Regions from separate parts of the Homo sapiens genome. Here region 1 is linked to region 2. Evidence: promoter capture Hi-C in 16 types of primary human blood cells and fetal thymus (Javierre and others, 2016). All regions are on one chromosome and are shown on one strand. Each heading gives the region's core, a stretch centred on a gene start or on the middle of the fragment in contact. The rest is flanking DNA. Distances are from core to core; before and after follow the strand shown. Region 1 holds the start of ENTPD1-AS1 (ENTPD1 antisense RNA 1). Region 2 holds the start of SORBS1 (sorbin and SH3 domain containing 1).

Evidence for each region. The method cuts DNA at HindIII sites, captures the fragments that hold promoters and counts their contacts. A CHiCAGO score of 5 or more calls a contact.
Region 1: a fragment that was not itself captured here is called in contact with the fragment with the promoter of SORBS1 in region 2 in 1 of 17 cell types (total CD8 T cells); the score reaches 5.1 in total CD8 T cells.

The regions. Positions count from the first base shown.
Region 1 is chr10:96,087,077-96,093,709 of GRCh38, reverse strand. ENTPD1-AS1 (ENTPD1 antisense RNA 1) reads left to right here and starts at 3,475. Exons shown (of 6, transcript NR_038444.1): 1 at 3,475-3,728; 2 at 4,403-4,444. RefSeq lists enhancers at 3,326-3,375, 3,386-3,755. The HindIII fragment of the contact is 2,317 bases long and covers 2,037-4,353 here.
Region 2 is chr10:95,558,063-95,564,854 of GRCh38, reverse strand. SORBS1 (sorbin and SH3 domain containing 1) reads left to right here and starts at 3,484. Exons shown (of 33, transcript NM_001034954.3): 1 at 3,484-3,535. RefSeq lists silencers at 3,135-3,504, 3,545-3,654 and an enhancer at 3,139-3,901. The HindIII fragment of the contact is 3,213 bases long and covers 2,609-5,821 here.

The DNA of each region.
Region 1 (6,633 bases), core at 1,946-4,445, 530 kb before region 2:
GGTCATAAGGGTGGGTCCCTGATCTGACAGAATTAGTGTCTTATAAGAAGATACACCAGAAAGTTCTCTCTCTTTCTCTTCCACGCCTCTTCATCTCGAGTATGTACCGAGGAAAGGCCATATGAGGATATTGTGAGAAGGCAGCCAGCTGCAACCCAGGAAGAATGCCCCTCACCAGAAAGCAAATTGGTCAAAACCCTGGTTTTGAACTTTGAGCTTCCAGGACAGTGAGAAAATAAATCTCTGTGTGTAAGCCACTCAGTCTATGGTATTTTGGCTGTGTCAACAGACTAATACACACTCCAAAAAAAGAGTGTGTAGAAATTTTTGTTTCAGCGTCATTTTCAAATTGTCCTCTGCTAAAATCTACTTTAATCCCGGCATGGTCATAAGCTGGTTTTACACTCTAGACCTGCTTGAAACTTAAACTTGGCTCACTCTCACGGGTGATTTTTAGGTTCGTTGGATGCTGCAACTCCTATGACACACAGAATGATCAAACATGGATTCCTGGGACTTGGGACTTTTGGTACTAAAGCAGGGAAAGTCCAAGGGCACTGGACAAGTTGGTCACTCTAGATAGGCAATACATTCTGTTCCTCCAGCTATTGCTCCATCTACAGCTATGGCTTCTCTAACAATCCATACCATACAGATTCTCTCCATACACAAGAGTCAAAAAGGTCTCAGGCCAACTTTCTCTTTTTTTCACGTGGCCCACATCTGCTGCACGAGAAACACTCAGGCATCATTTGCCTTGACAAACTACGGCAGTGACTACAGATCCCAACATAGCAACTTTCCTTCACTCCTATGCCAAAATTCTCACTGGCCCATCTCTCCTACCCCTGGGATTTCCCAGATGTGAGTCACGATACTACTGTACCTCTCAAAACCCAGGAAATGCATGTCAAGTTCTCTGAGTATTGCTATTGAAGCCCCCTTCACTAGACTTGAAGGTGACTGGGGAAGCATATAACAATGGCTCTCCCCAAAACTTCTCCTCATAAACTCATCTCTTTCAACATCTTCTTTTAACCCATGAAACTGGTGAAAGGTTCCAATAGCGGCAAAACCAGTTCTTGGACTGTGGCTGCCAATACAGGGAGCAAAACTGATCAAGGGCTCTAGATGCTTGCTGCACTCTGAATTCCCTGGCCACATTTTCACCCATGGGCTGCTCCAGCCGGTGACTGAGAGCAGCACAGATAATAAGGCAGGCTGGCTCCTGAAAGAAGGACTCCTCTGACAGGTGATTTTGGCTTGAGGATTTCCAATAGCCTTTCTAAATCTTGCTTAGACTGTTTGGCAGTCCAGGAAACTTCCACCACCCTTCCCTCTCTCTCTGCTTTACTCAATTTCAGACTTGCAGCCTCTCCCAGTCTTGCTTGGCTCCCGCCCATTCTCTCTCACAGGTGTTTCCTCTAATAAAATTGTTGCACATTTAATCCCATCATAACAACTTCTCATCAGAGCCAGACTAATGTAAAGACATTTCTTTGGAAAACATGCATCTTGTCAGCACCTCACTTTGGCGTTTCATAGTTGTTGCTTTATAATGCTGCAGGCAAAACTTCCAGTTTATAGTTATACTACTAACCACAGGATGAATGAATGACATGGTAAGATAAAAAAACAGGAAAAATGATGGGATTTTACTTTACATTTCTTGTTGTTCAACCCCTCCATTTTTGTTAAAATATATGTCTAATTTGAATGCGCATCAAGATGAATTTTTAGTAAGACTTATCACTGTGGGTGCTGAGTATGTGAGCAGGAACATCATAGATGCTAATTTACCTTTTAGTAGGCAACCAGGCCTGTGCCAGGACTTGGATAAGAAGGCTGTTACATGCTACCCTGGAGTTCCAAAGTAACCCCAATATCACCATCTGTCTTTGTTCCTCCACATTTTCTTCTTCCCGTGATCCCTTCTCATTTTTCCTTTCTATCTTCTTTTACTTGTTTTGTCACTGCTTTAGAAGTCACTAATAAGCAATAGTGGGAAGTAGAGTATGTGAATAAAGAATGAAGCTTTCTTTGGCAGTCTGAAATAAATTGCTTAAAACTGTACCCCAAAGCAGCCAGAATAAAAATAGCTTTTTATATTTGTTCTCCACCATTTCAAGTATCCAAACGCCCCACATGACTTGACCCCTGCAACTTTGTTTTAGGGAAGACTTTTGGTGGTAGCATACTCTCATACGAAAGTGTGTGAAAAACATCAATTTGCTTTTTTACTTTTCCTGTGAGGATTATAGAACCAAAACAAAATATCGAAAATTTTGAGAATACACTGACTCACAAAAATCCAATGCTTTTCTAGTCAAACAGGATTTCTCTACGTGATTTGTATCAAGGACGGTCATTTATCAAAATGTGACAACATGCCTTTGCCGTCATTATAACAGCAGGCAATTAAAAATGTTTTTACCATAGCCAGTTTGCTTATTTTTCTATTTTAAAAGGGTTTTATAGCAGATATGCAAAAGAGAAAGCAGAGAGAAAAAAATAAAATCACTCTCTATTCAAACACTATCACTGTTAATTTTGATGTATTTCTTGTGTTTTTCTAGGCATAATTTGTTTTTACAAAAACATAGCCTTAGTGGCTAGTCCCACTTTATTATGTGAGTACTGGTCAATGCAGAAAGAAGACTAAACAAACTACAGATTGGTTTTCAGTCATATTCTAAAGAAACAGAAGCCAAACAAACACTTGGTCTGGTGGAAAGTCCAAGATTATGGTCCTTGGCCCTCTGTTAAGGCCAGCTAGAGTATCTGGTGATGGTGAGAGGCCTCCAACTGTCTTAGTCCTGGATTTAAAAGGGCCTAAACGGAGCTAAAATGTTCCCCAGAGCCTAGCAATCATTGACAGTTTCCTCAGGTAACCAGCGCTGCAGACGGAGAATGCTGCAAAGGCAAGGTGTCAGAAACCAATTGAAATCCGAGGTTCAGCCAAGGGGACCCAGGCACACACGTGGGCCTTGTGTTCACCATAAAGAGCATACTGGCTACAAGTTGGCCCCTCTCTGGGCAACAGAGTGCCTAACTTAAAGGGGCTTACGAGGATGCCATGCGCCAACAGCTCTGGTTTTACAAAATGGAGTCACCAGGGAGAACGCGGTGTCTGGGTTAGACCACGTTCACCAAGTACCAGCTATACGATCTCGGACAAATTTACTTGCCCTCTCTTAACCTTAGTTTCCCCATATATAAAATGTAAGTGATACATTTCTGACTGCTGGGATTGTAAGGAAGGGATTAAATGGCTTGCCAATGAGGTGTTCAGCACAATGCCTGCCTAACACGTAAAACGTGTTGGGGTTGGTTGGTTGTAAGACCCACAACCTCTCTCCCCACTCTACCCCCGCCCCGCCACCAGCAGCCCAGCTGCAGCCGCTTCCGGGAACCACTTCGCTTCGGTCTCCCACTGCCGAACGCGGATCCCTCCGCGTTGCGTCACTTCCGGGAGACTCTGGCCGCGGCGATTCAATATATCCGGAAGCAACTGTCATGGCTGCTGTCAGTGAGGGCCCGTAATGGAGATCGAGTCAAGGGTTGCCCAGGGACACTTAAGAGCCTTCGGCTTCAAGGAGGCCTCTCAAAGGACAAAGGATGAGACTGCCTGGCGGCAGAGTGCCCCCCACAATCGTAGGAACTGTGTCGCCGCGCTTCCCGTTAACTTGCCGCTAAGTTTTTCTAGAAAAGTCGCCCTTCTTGCCAGGGTGGGACCTCACTTCTGACCTAGCCCTTCTTTGTGTACCAAGTTTTTGTTTCCGTCATTTCCCGCAGCCCGGGAGCTCGGCGGGCGATACTGTGGTAGCCTGGGAGGAAGGGGCGGGCCGGATGCTGGAACCGAGAGAGGTGGGGCTCGTCGAGGAGTCACGGGCGGCCGAGGCTGGAGTCTCCTAAATGCAACCTTGAGCTGTTCCACCCTTTGGTGCTTGGTCTGTTAGCTCGAGGTGCTCCTCACCGTGGAGGCGTTTAGAGCTGGTCATAAGGCTCTTACCTGCTGACCCAACCACCCTCAACCACAGCTTGCCCTGCTCCAGATAGACTTTGATCCTAGAAAATATCTAAGATGGGTGTAGTGCAGTATGTTATTGTTTTAAGTCTCAAACATAAGCAAACTATTATTAAAAGTTTTAGAATTAATAGGCAGAGTTCACATATTGGGTCGTGTTATTGTTTTAAGGTTTAAATTTAGATAACATGTTAGTACTTGTTGAGATTTTAACAAAAGCATTAAAAAAATGAGAAAATAGATTAATCTTTAGAATATTTTAAGTTTGCTACTGCGCAGTGGTAACATGAAGACACCTCATAATAAGTCTTTGATTACCAGAAGCTTCTGAAAGTAAAATTATGGGTATATTAATGTGAGTTTTCCTCTCTGCAGGGTGTCCTATAGACTTTGTCATGGAGTGAAACAGAAACAAATGTGAGTTAATCATTAACATTTCCTAGTGGTTAAAATTACTTTTTAAGCGCTTAACTGTGTATTTTTTAGATTGAAGATTTCAAATGAAATTTTGATTTGACTGAAATATTTAATATGTGATGAGTTGATATTAAAATACAGAAGATTACTATTTTTATAGAAACAATAATGTAGAAACTAATATTTGAAGCAGGTTTACTCCACATACTGTGTTATAATTTAAATTTTCACTTAAACTCTCAAAATCAGAAGAGCTGACCTAGTAAGGCTTAAACCTCTAAAACTTGTGGTTTTAACAAGGCTTAATATACGTAGTTATAATAGTTTTTAAAAAAATTGTTATCAAGTTCCTCAGGTGATTCTGATATAGTATTTTAAAGAAAGCAAAGAGAAATGATCTGTTTATACATTTTAAATATTTTGTTCCTTATTTATGTATTGAGACTGTGCTTATAAATGCATTCACACGCATTGAAGTACATAATTTGATCGTCATGCCAGCCTGGAATCTTGCTTTTTGTATGGTTTCTTGCAGGTAGGTCTATTGGGTTCTTGGCATAGTACCTGGACAAAACATTGTTAAGGTGGAAATTTTCATTGTATTTATCACTTCAAACACTTGACCAGTTTATTTAGTTTTCAAGCGCTTTAGACAACTATATGTGGGCTTGACTTAGTGTATAATAAATGTAAAGTTTGATCTCAAGTAGTTGACATTTATGGAGTATTTACCATATGCCAATCTTTGTGATAATTGCTAGACATATTTTATTTAATGCTTACAGCAGTACTGTGAGTTAGGTTTGTTAAATCCCTGTTTTAATAGATGGAGAAACTGAGGCAAGGACGGATTAAGTTACAAATCCGTCTTTGTAACTTAGAGCCATCTTCTTACCTACTTGTTTTGTATGACACCCTTTTCCTCCATATAACTGAACACTGGTAGAAGAGTGAATGACTGTAGAAAACAGACCTGGACTCTATTCTACCTGTCCAGCTTTGTAAACTAGGGCAAGTTGTGTGACCACTCTGAATTTCATTTTCCTCACCTATAATAAATGAAAACTTTGAACTATTATGTTTTATTGAATCTTGAATCATCAGAAATCCTTAAGGCTGGGTGTGGTGCTTCACGCCTGTAATCCCACCACTTTGGGAGGCCCAGATGGGAGGATTGCTTGAGGCCAGGAGTTTGAGACCAGCCTGGTCAGTCAGCATAGCGATATCCCATCTCTACCACAAAAAAAAAAAAAAAAATTCCTTAAAATGGTGCCTTTACCATCAAACCTGGGATTTTCTTCCAAGCCCCTAGTGCTCATTCTGAGTTTTGAAGTTTTGATGCACGGCAGTGCCAACTCCATCTCCATTGCCGTCTAGTCTGATTACATTGTAAGATGTGACTGATTTCAGAGATGTCAAAATGTAAAATAATGTGCATCTTGGAACTAATGAGCTCTTTTTCAACCCTGACTCTGTAACATCTGTGACTTTTTAACATTTTATTGCAGGATTAAGTATTTTTGAATGTAAATGATTCAAGATAACACATAGACTTCGTTTGATGACATCTGCAAAATAAATTTTTAAAAAATTTGGGCTTCATGATAATGGAAAAGTAGAAACTATGTTTGTCTTTATCACCTGTGAATCCCCCATATTGAGAACATGCCTGGCACATAGTGAGTGTTCAGTAATCATTTACTCAATGAAGTAAACAAGTCTTCATTTCTTTTTTCTTTGTTTGAGACAATCTCACTCTGTTGCTCATGCTGGAGTGCAGTGACGCTATCTTGGCTCACTGCAACCTCTGCCTCCAAGGCTCAAGTGATCCTCCCGCCTCAGCCTCCCAAGTAGCTAGGACTACAGGCACACACCACCGCACCAGTTAATTTTTGAATTTTTTTGTAGAGACAGGGTCTTACCATATTTCCCAGGCTGGTCTTGAACTTCTGGGCTCAAGCCATCTGCCTGCCTCAGCTTCCAAAGTTCTAGGATTACAGGCATCAGCCACTGTGCCCTGCCACGTCTTCATTTCATATTACAAATACAATATTAAAAAATTGTGTTTGACTTGAATTAGACATAAAATACACAGTCATGCATCGCTTAATGACAGGGATACATTCTGAGAAATGTGTTGGGTGATTTTGTTATTGTGCGTGTACTTACATAAATCTACATGGTATGGG
Region 2 (6,792 bases), core at 2,235-4,734:
GCACCTAGCTCAGGGCCTGCTGCCCAGATGAATCTATGAATGACTGGAGATAGGATGAACTGACACGATTACACCTGATGATTTCTTGGGTTGCTTTCAGCGTTAAAACATTGAAGGACTGGCCAGGTGTGGTGGCTCACGCCTGTAATCCCAGCACTTGGGGAGGCTGAGGGGGGCAGATCGCTTGAGTCCAGGAGTTTGAGACCAGCCTGGCAAAATGGTGAAACTCTGTCTCTACCAAAAATACACAAAATTAGCTGGCCACAGTGGCCCATGTCTGTAGTCCCAGCTACTTGGGAGGGTGAGGCAGGAGGATCCCTTGAGCCCAGAAGATCAAGGCTGCAGTGAGCCGAGATTGCGCCATTGCATTCCAGCCTGGGTGACAGGAATGAGTGAAACCCTGTTTCAAAAACAGAAACAAAAACAAAAACCCAACCCATCGAAAGACCGTGACTTTCAACATTTCTTGGAGGAGACACCTGAGATGAGTCCTGAAGGACAGTAGGATTTTTCTTTTCTTTTCTTTTTTTGAGATGGAGTCTCGCTCTGTCGCCAGGCTGGAGTGCAGTGGTGTGGTCTTGGCTCACTGCAACCTCCACCTCCTGGGTTCAAGCGATTCTCCTGCCTCAGCCTCCCGAGTAGCTGAGATTACAGGTGCGTGCCACCACGCCTGGCTAATTTTTTGTATTTTTAGTAGAGATGGGGTTTCACCATGTTGGCCAGGCTGGTCTCGAACTCCTGACCTCGTGATCCGCCTGCCTCGGCCTCCCAAAGTGCTGGGATTACTGGCGTGAGCCACTGCGCCTGGCCACCAGTAGGATTTTTCTTTCTGTTTTTTCCACTTTCCTTCTTTCTTGACTTTCCACTATTTTACCATTTCTTTCATAAATCCTAATGGCAATGTTATGCCTTACAGTGAGACATGCAACAGTGACACAGACTGGAAACAGCAGAGAGGTTCAATATTTGAGGGATGACCTGAAGCCTTAGGCCTCCCTTAAGATTCCTTGAGATAGTGTAGATGAAATCTTCATTGATAGAGTCTGGTTTTTCATCTTAAAATTATTTTATTTTCACTGGACAAGTTGGTAGATGTTTATGAAGAAAAAAATCAGAAGACTATGGATGAGCAAAAATAATTACTTGCAATCCCATAAGAATAGTTCTAATGGGATTGCAGTATAAAACTAGTTTTCTACCTATTTTTCCATTCAATAATCTGAGCATCTTTTTTTTTTTTCTTTTTTTTGAGATGGAGTCTTATTCTGTTGCCCAGGCTGTAGTGCAGTGGCACGATCTTGGCTCACTGCAACCTCCGCCTCCCAGGCTCAGGCAATTCTCCTGCCTCAGCCTCCCACAGGTGCACGCCACCATGCCCAGCTAATTTTGGATTCTTTAGTAGAGATGGGGTTTCACCATGTTTCCCAGGCTGGTCTCAAACTCCTGAGCTCAGGTGATCCACCGCTGCCCACCTTGGCCTCCTAGAGTGCTGGGATTACAGGCGTGAGCCACCACTCCCAGCCTATTATGAGCATCTTTATGTGTCAATAAACCTCTTCATTTTTTGTAGCTATTAATATATGATATTCTGTCATATGGTTGTACTATTATTAACCAATGCACTCAAATTGGATATTTGGATTGTTTTGATTTTTTTTTTTTTTGGCTATTCTAAAATGGTGTTGCCCTGAATTTGCTGGGTAAGTAACTAGTCTCTCTACCCTTTGTTATACACCTCTGTGGATAACCTCAGGATAACGACACTATTCCCACCTGGGGTCGTGTGGTGGATGTGAGTTAACGCATGTAAAGCTCTTAGCACAAGTATAGTACGGTGCATAGCAGCCTAGACGTGCTCAATAAATACTAGCTGTTTTATTACTTTATAGCCCAGAGAGAGCTGTCTTACACAGATTGTGGAGTAAATAAATAGGAGAGCCGGGGAAGTGTTCTTTGAAAAGCTGCAGGATGAGGTGCAGATAGGGGAAGGCCGTGGGCTGGGGGCTCCCTAGGTTGAGTAGTTCCCCAGTGTTTTCTCATTTATAGAGTAAGCTTCCAGATGGCTAGGACTCTTCTTTTTTTTTTTAATACACAGCAGAGGACACCAGGTGGTCACCAAAGACTTGTCACCGTTCCCTGACATCTAAGAATCTTTGCTGATGAGTTTCCGATCAGTCTGTGCAGTTATCAAGGCCAGTCTTTACCCTGCCACCCACAGCCTGTTCACTGAGAATGTGCTCTGGCTGAAGATGCTTGCAAGGGCAGCTGACAAAAATCAGTTGTGCTCAGCCCAAAGGGCGAGTGTCTTATCTTCAGGGATGTGGGAAGCTGGGCATGGAGGGAGCAAGTTCCAGACCAGTACTTGCTGGCTCTGCGACCTTGGGCCAGCAGATTCCCCACTCTGATCCCTGTCTCTGTTTCCTTTTCTGTAACTCTGAGGGGGACTAGAGGAGGTCAGGAGAATGGCATAGCACAGTGGTTAGCTCTGAACCCCATCTAACACGGTGCCTTCCCCCCACTTGCAATGACCTTGTTGCATTGTATGCACTCTACTTTTCACATTGTAGAGGATCTTATTTATTTACTTGTCTCCACTAAAATGGAAGCTTCCTAAGGGAAAAGGCCTTGCCTGTCTTGTTCTCTGCAGTTAACACTGGGGTCCAGCACTGCCACAGAGCCTCTAAATATATGTGTGTTGCATGAGTGAAATCTCAGAGCCTGGGTTCAAATCCTGGTTGCACCACTTGCTGTGTGACCTCGGACAAGCCACTTAAACTACACCTCAGTTTTCCTGCATAAAAATAGTAATTATTTTCAGTTTTCTCACTAGAAAAATATGGATTAGTAATCGTTCCTCTCTTATCAGGCTAAGAGGATCAAATGAGGAAATATCCGGGAAGCATTAAGCACACTGGCTGGTACAGAGCACACGAATGACAACAGCAAACGTTTATGTAGCACGACGGCCAGGAACTGATCAAAATGCATCACCTATGTTAACTATGTTAATCTTCACTAGATTTTACGAAGTCGGACTATTATGCCATTTTACAGATGGGTAAACTGAGGCCCAGGAGTTAAATAACTTATCACTGTTATTTTACGTCTAAGGTTCCTTCCAAGCTCCCCGTGGGCGACCCTTCCGAAGGACCAGAAGGCGCGCCAGGCCAGCGTCCGGCCCGGCCAGGACGGAAAGGGTTACTAGGCCCGCGCGCCCGTTACCGGCGGAGGCCGGCGGGCTCACAATGCCAGGAGCCGGGCGCCGGACACTTCTTCGCCTCCCATCCGCGCACACGCCCCTTCCTGTCACGGCTGGGCCCGGCCCCGCCCCCGGCACCGCCCGCTGGCCGGGCGCTGCCAGAGTGGACGGTTCCAGAGGCATGCTAATGAGGGGGCGGGCACCGCAGCCCATTGGTTGTCCGCGGAGTGTCGGTGAAGTCAGCGCTGAGTCCCAGAAAAACAGAGCGGGGCCAGCTGCAGCGTGTAGTGCGAGTGGGGCGGACGCGCGCAGCCCGCCCGCCCGGCGACCAGCAAGGTAAGCCCGCGCTCGCCCGCCCGGCCGCGCTTGCCCGCTCGGCGGCGGCAGCGCCGGGGGTGTGCGCGGCTCGGCCCCCGCGGGCGGCGCCTTTGTTCCGCGCTCGGAGGAGGCGCATTTAAAGGGCCAGCTGTTGGAGGGACTTGGGGGACCCCCTCCCCCAGAGCATCCCCCCATGGGCACAGGGAAAGCGGTGGTCCCTCGCGGCCGAACCGTCCATCCTGCCTGCTCGGCGAATCCCCAGTCTTTCAAGGAAAGTTCCCCAGGGTGCGGAGGATCTGGGGGCTTCCAGGGTTGGGGGTTTTTAAATTTCCTTTTTTGGTGGGTGTGGGGTAGTACGATCATGGCCTCTGCTAGGAGAGAATGTCCGCCCGTCTCAGGGTGGCTGCAATTTGGGTGGGTGGAGGAGACATCAAAGCCCGAATGGGTTTGTGCTGTAAAGTGAAACTACCGAGGAGGGGCACCTCTGCAGCAGCCAGAGGAAGGCGGAGGGAGCGAGCGGCGGGATGGAGGCATCTCAGGTGTGTTCATTCATCAGCATCCCCTGGAGAGGGCGGCGGGAGGGGCGCAAGGACGACGCGGTTGGCCGGACCCGCCTGAATGAACGGGGACTAGTATGCGCCGGGGACACGGCGCCTGCCCGTGCCGCCCGTGCCCCTTCTTCTCCCCGAGTGGCTGACAGCATCTTGCTAGGCAGCTCATCACCGACATGGACAGCAAGCAACTCCTTTCTCCGAATTCCCCGGGCATCCCCTGCTACCACCTCGCTGCTTTCCGATGTGGCTTCCTTGATACGTGGTAGCGCCATTCAAGATAGAGGGGAAAGAGGCTTGAAGTCATTATGTTTCCTTCATGGGGGAATGTGCTGTCGAATTCTGCATCCCCATGCATCCGCTGTCGTAAGATGGCTTTGAAATTCACCAGTGCATGCTTTCTCCAGGCAGACAAGAATTTATTACGCTATTACATTGCTACGTAAAAGCAGAAGGGATCCCACTGAGCATGGCTCGTTTTGTTCAGTCCTCGGTTTTTCCCAGCATGTTCTGGGCGAGCCTTTGGATTTTTGTTTTAAACACTGAGCGTTGGGATGCCCCTGTTGTCACAGGGCCGACCTGCTGAAATTGCTGGAATTGGTTTCATCGTCAATAGGAGGGAGGTTCATCTAGAGACATCATGGAACCTATCTGGCGTGTCAGGCCTCTGACTCCATCTCTCCCCTCAACACCCCCCCCCCCGCCCAGCCCCCCGCGCCCTTTTTTCCTCTTAAGTGGAGGCGGGGGATGGATTGGCTGTCTTCACTCTCCTTGTGTTTTGAGCTCCTCTGCTTAGATTCAATTCTGTGGTTTTGGTTGGAAAGGTATCTTGGTGGTGATCGAAGAGAGGAGGGTTGGATTAAAAGTGGGGTGGACACAGAGGGGTCAGCAGCATCAATGACAGAAGACAGATGATGGACATATCTACAGCCTTCAGACACCGATGAGGCAGATGGCTGTCTACAGAGTGAGGGGCGTGTGTTTGGGCTGTGAGGGGGAGGGGTGGAGGAGGAGGATGCCTCCAGCAGTTTTCTGCCCCGCCCTCTGGATGCTGCCTTAAATAGCCCCTTGCCAACCAAGCTCTGATGTCTCTTTCTTGGCCTGAGGGGAAAGAAGGGAAGGGTTGGTCTGTTGGCACCTTTGCCCAAGGCACTGTTGGAGCAGATGGTTAGGAAAGGGTTAGTTCTCCAGGGGTTGCAGAGAGCACATTTCTCAGCTGGAGGGCCCTGAGACCACTCCTTTGGCGACTTCCCTGCAGGGAATTAGCAACTGAAATGAACTGCTGTCTACCCTGTGGGGTAAAGAGTTGGGAGGGTATTGTCATCTTGTGGACGATACCCGCCTTGTTGGCCTTTTCCTTCTCCTACCTGCTTTCATTTGTTGTAGTTGGAGAGTTTCTGTATACTTTTCGGAAGAGATTGGGCATATTGGGGAGTGGGTAGGAGTTATGGGAAAGGATGAGCAAATTCTTCCTGGCAGAACAAAGCACTGTTCAGCTGTTCCTCTCTTTCCCCTTCTCTAAAATAAGAGTTCAATACAGATAGCAGAGTCTAGGGTTTTCTTTGTAAACAATGAAAGGGCAGGGCCAGGAAAGAAAGTTTTTATTGTGCAGCATTGATAATGATCAGGTCATCCTAACTTATCTCCAGACCCTTCCCTGGATGTGGAGATAGATTTGCTGTAGAGGGCACTCTATGGTAATTTAGGATTTGACCTGTCTCTAGGAGAAAGGCATGGATGGTCTCAAAAAGCTTTGGTGGAGAAGCTCTGGACCAGAGGCAGGACAGCTAGCTTTGGTCCTGGCCACCAATCTTTGGGCTTTGGGCTAGTGGCTTCTGCTCTCTGGGCCTGTGTCCTTGCTGGTGAAGTGGAGGATGATAGGGCAGAAGGTCTTCCAGGGTTCCTGACAACTCCACTGTTCTTAGAGTCACAGTTTGTGATGGCATTTTCAGGTTCTTTCCTGTTTGCTAAATTGATAATAAATTCAAAGTATTGCACAATGGCATAGAAGAAGCATTCTAGGATGCAGGCTTCTGTTGGATTCACATCTACCTTTTCCTTGATTAGTGTGATTTGTGAGGTTTTACTGTAAGTATGTAAACAATTCAGAGCTAGAACGGTCCAGAGTGAGAGGCACAGACCCCAGAGTGAGTGGTTGTGGGAGATGAGGGTGGGATGATAGATTGCTGAGGAAAGGGAGTTTCTGTAATTTGTTCTCTTTCCCTGTGGATGTTTAACTTGCTGGTTTATTCATGGTTACACAGGTGAACGTTTACCTATCTAGAAGATGAGAGTTATAAAAGACCTCTGTGATTGCCATGTTCCTCCCCCTTCCCCGCCAAACTGAGGAATTTGAGGGGTTGGGAGGTTTGGCCATTTTTCCAAGGTTGCACAGCTAGCAAGATGTGGAGCTGGGGTGGGAACTCGGGGGGATAGATTGTAGATCTTGTTTCCAGATGTATCTGGGTTTTTTTGTTTTTTGGTGGTGGTGGTTGTTTTGAGACAGGGTCTCACCTGTCACCCAGGCTGGAGTGCAGTGGCACAATCATGGCTCACTGCAGCCTCGACCTCCTGGGCCCAGGCAGTCCTCCTACCTCAGCCTCCCGAGTAGCTGGGACCACAGGCACGCACTACCACACCCAGCTAATTTTTGTACTTTTTGTAGAGACAGAGTTTTGCGGTGTTGCCCAGGCTGGTCTCAAACTCCTGGACTCAAGCGATCCG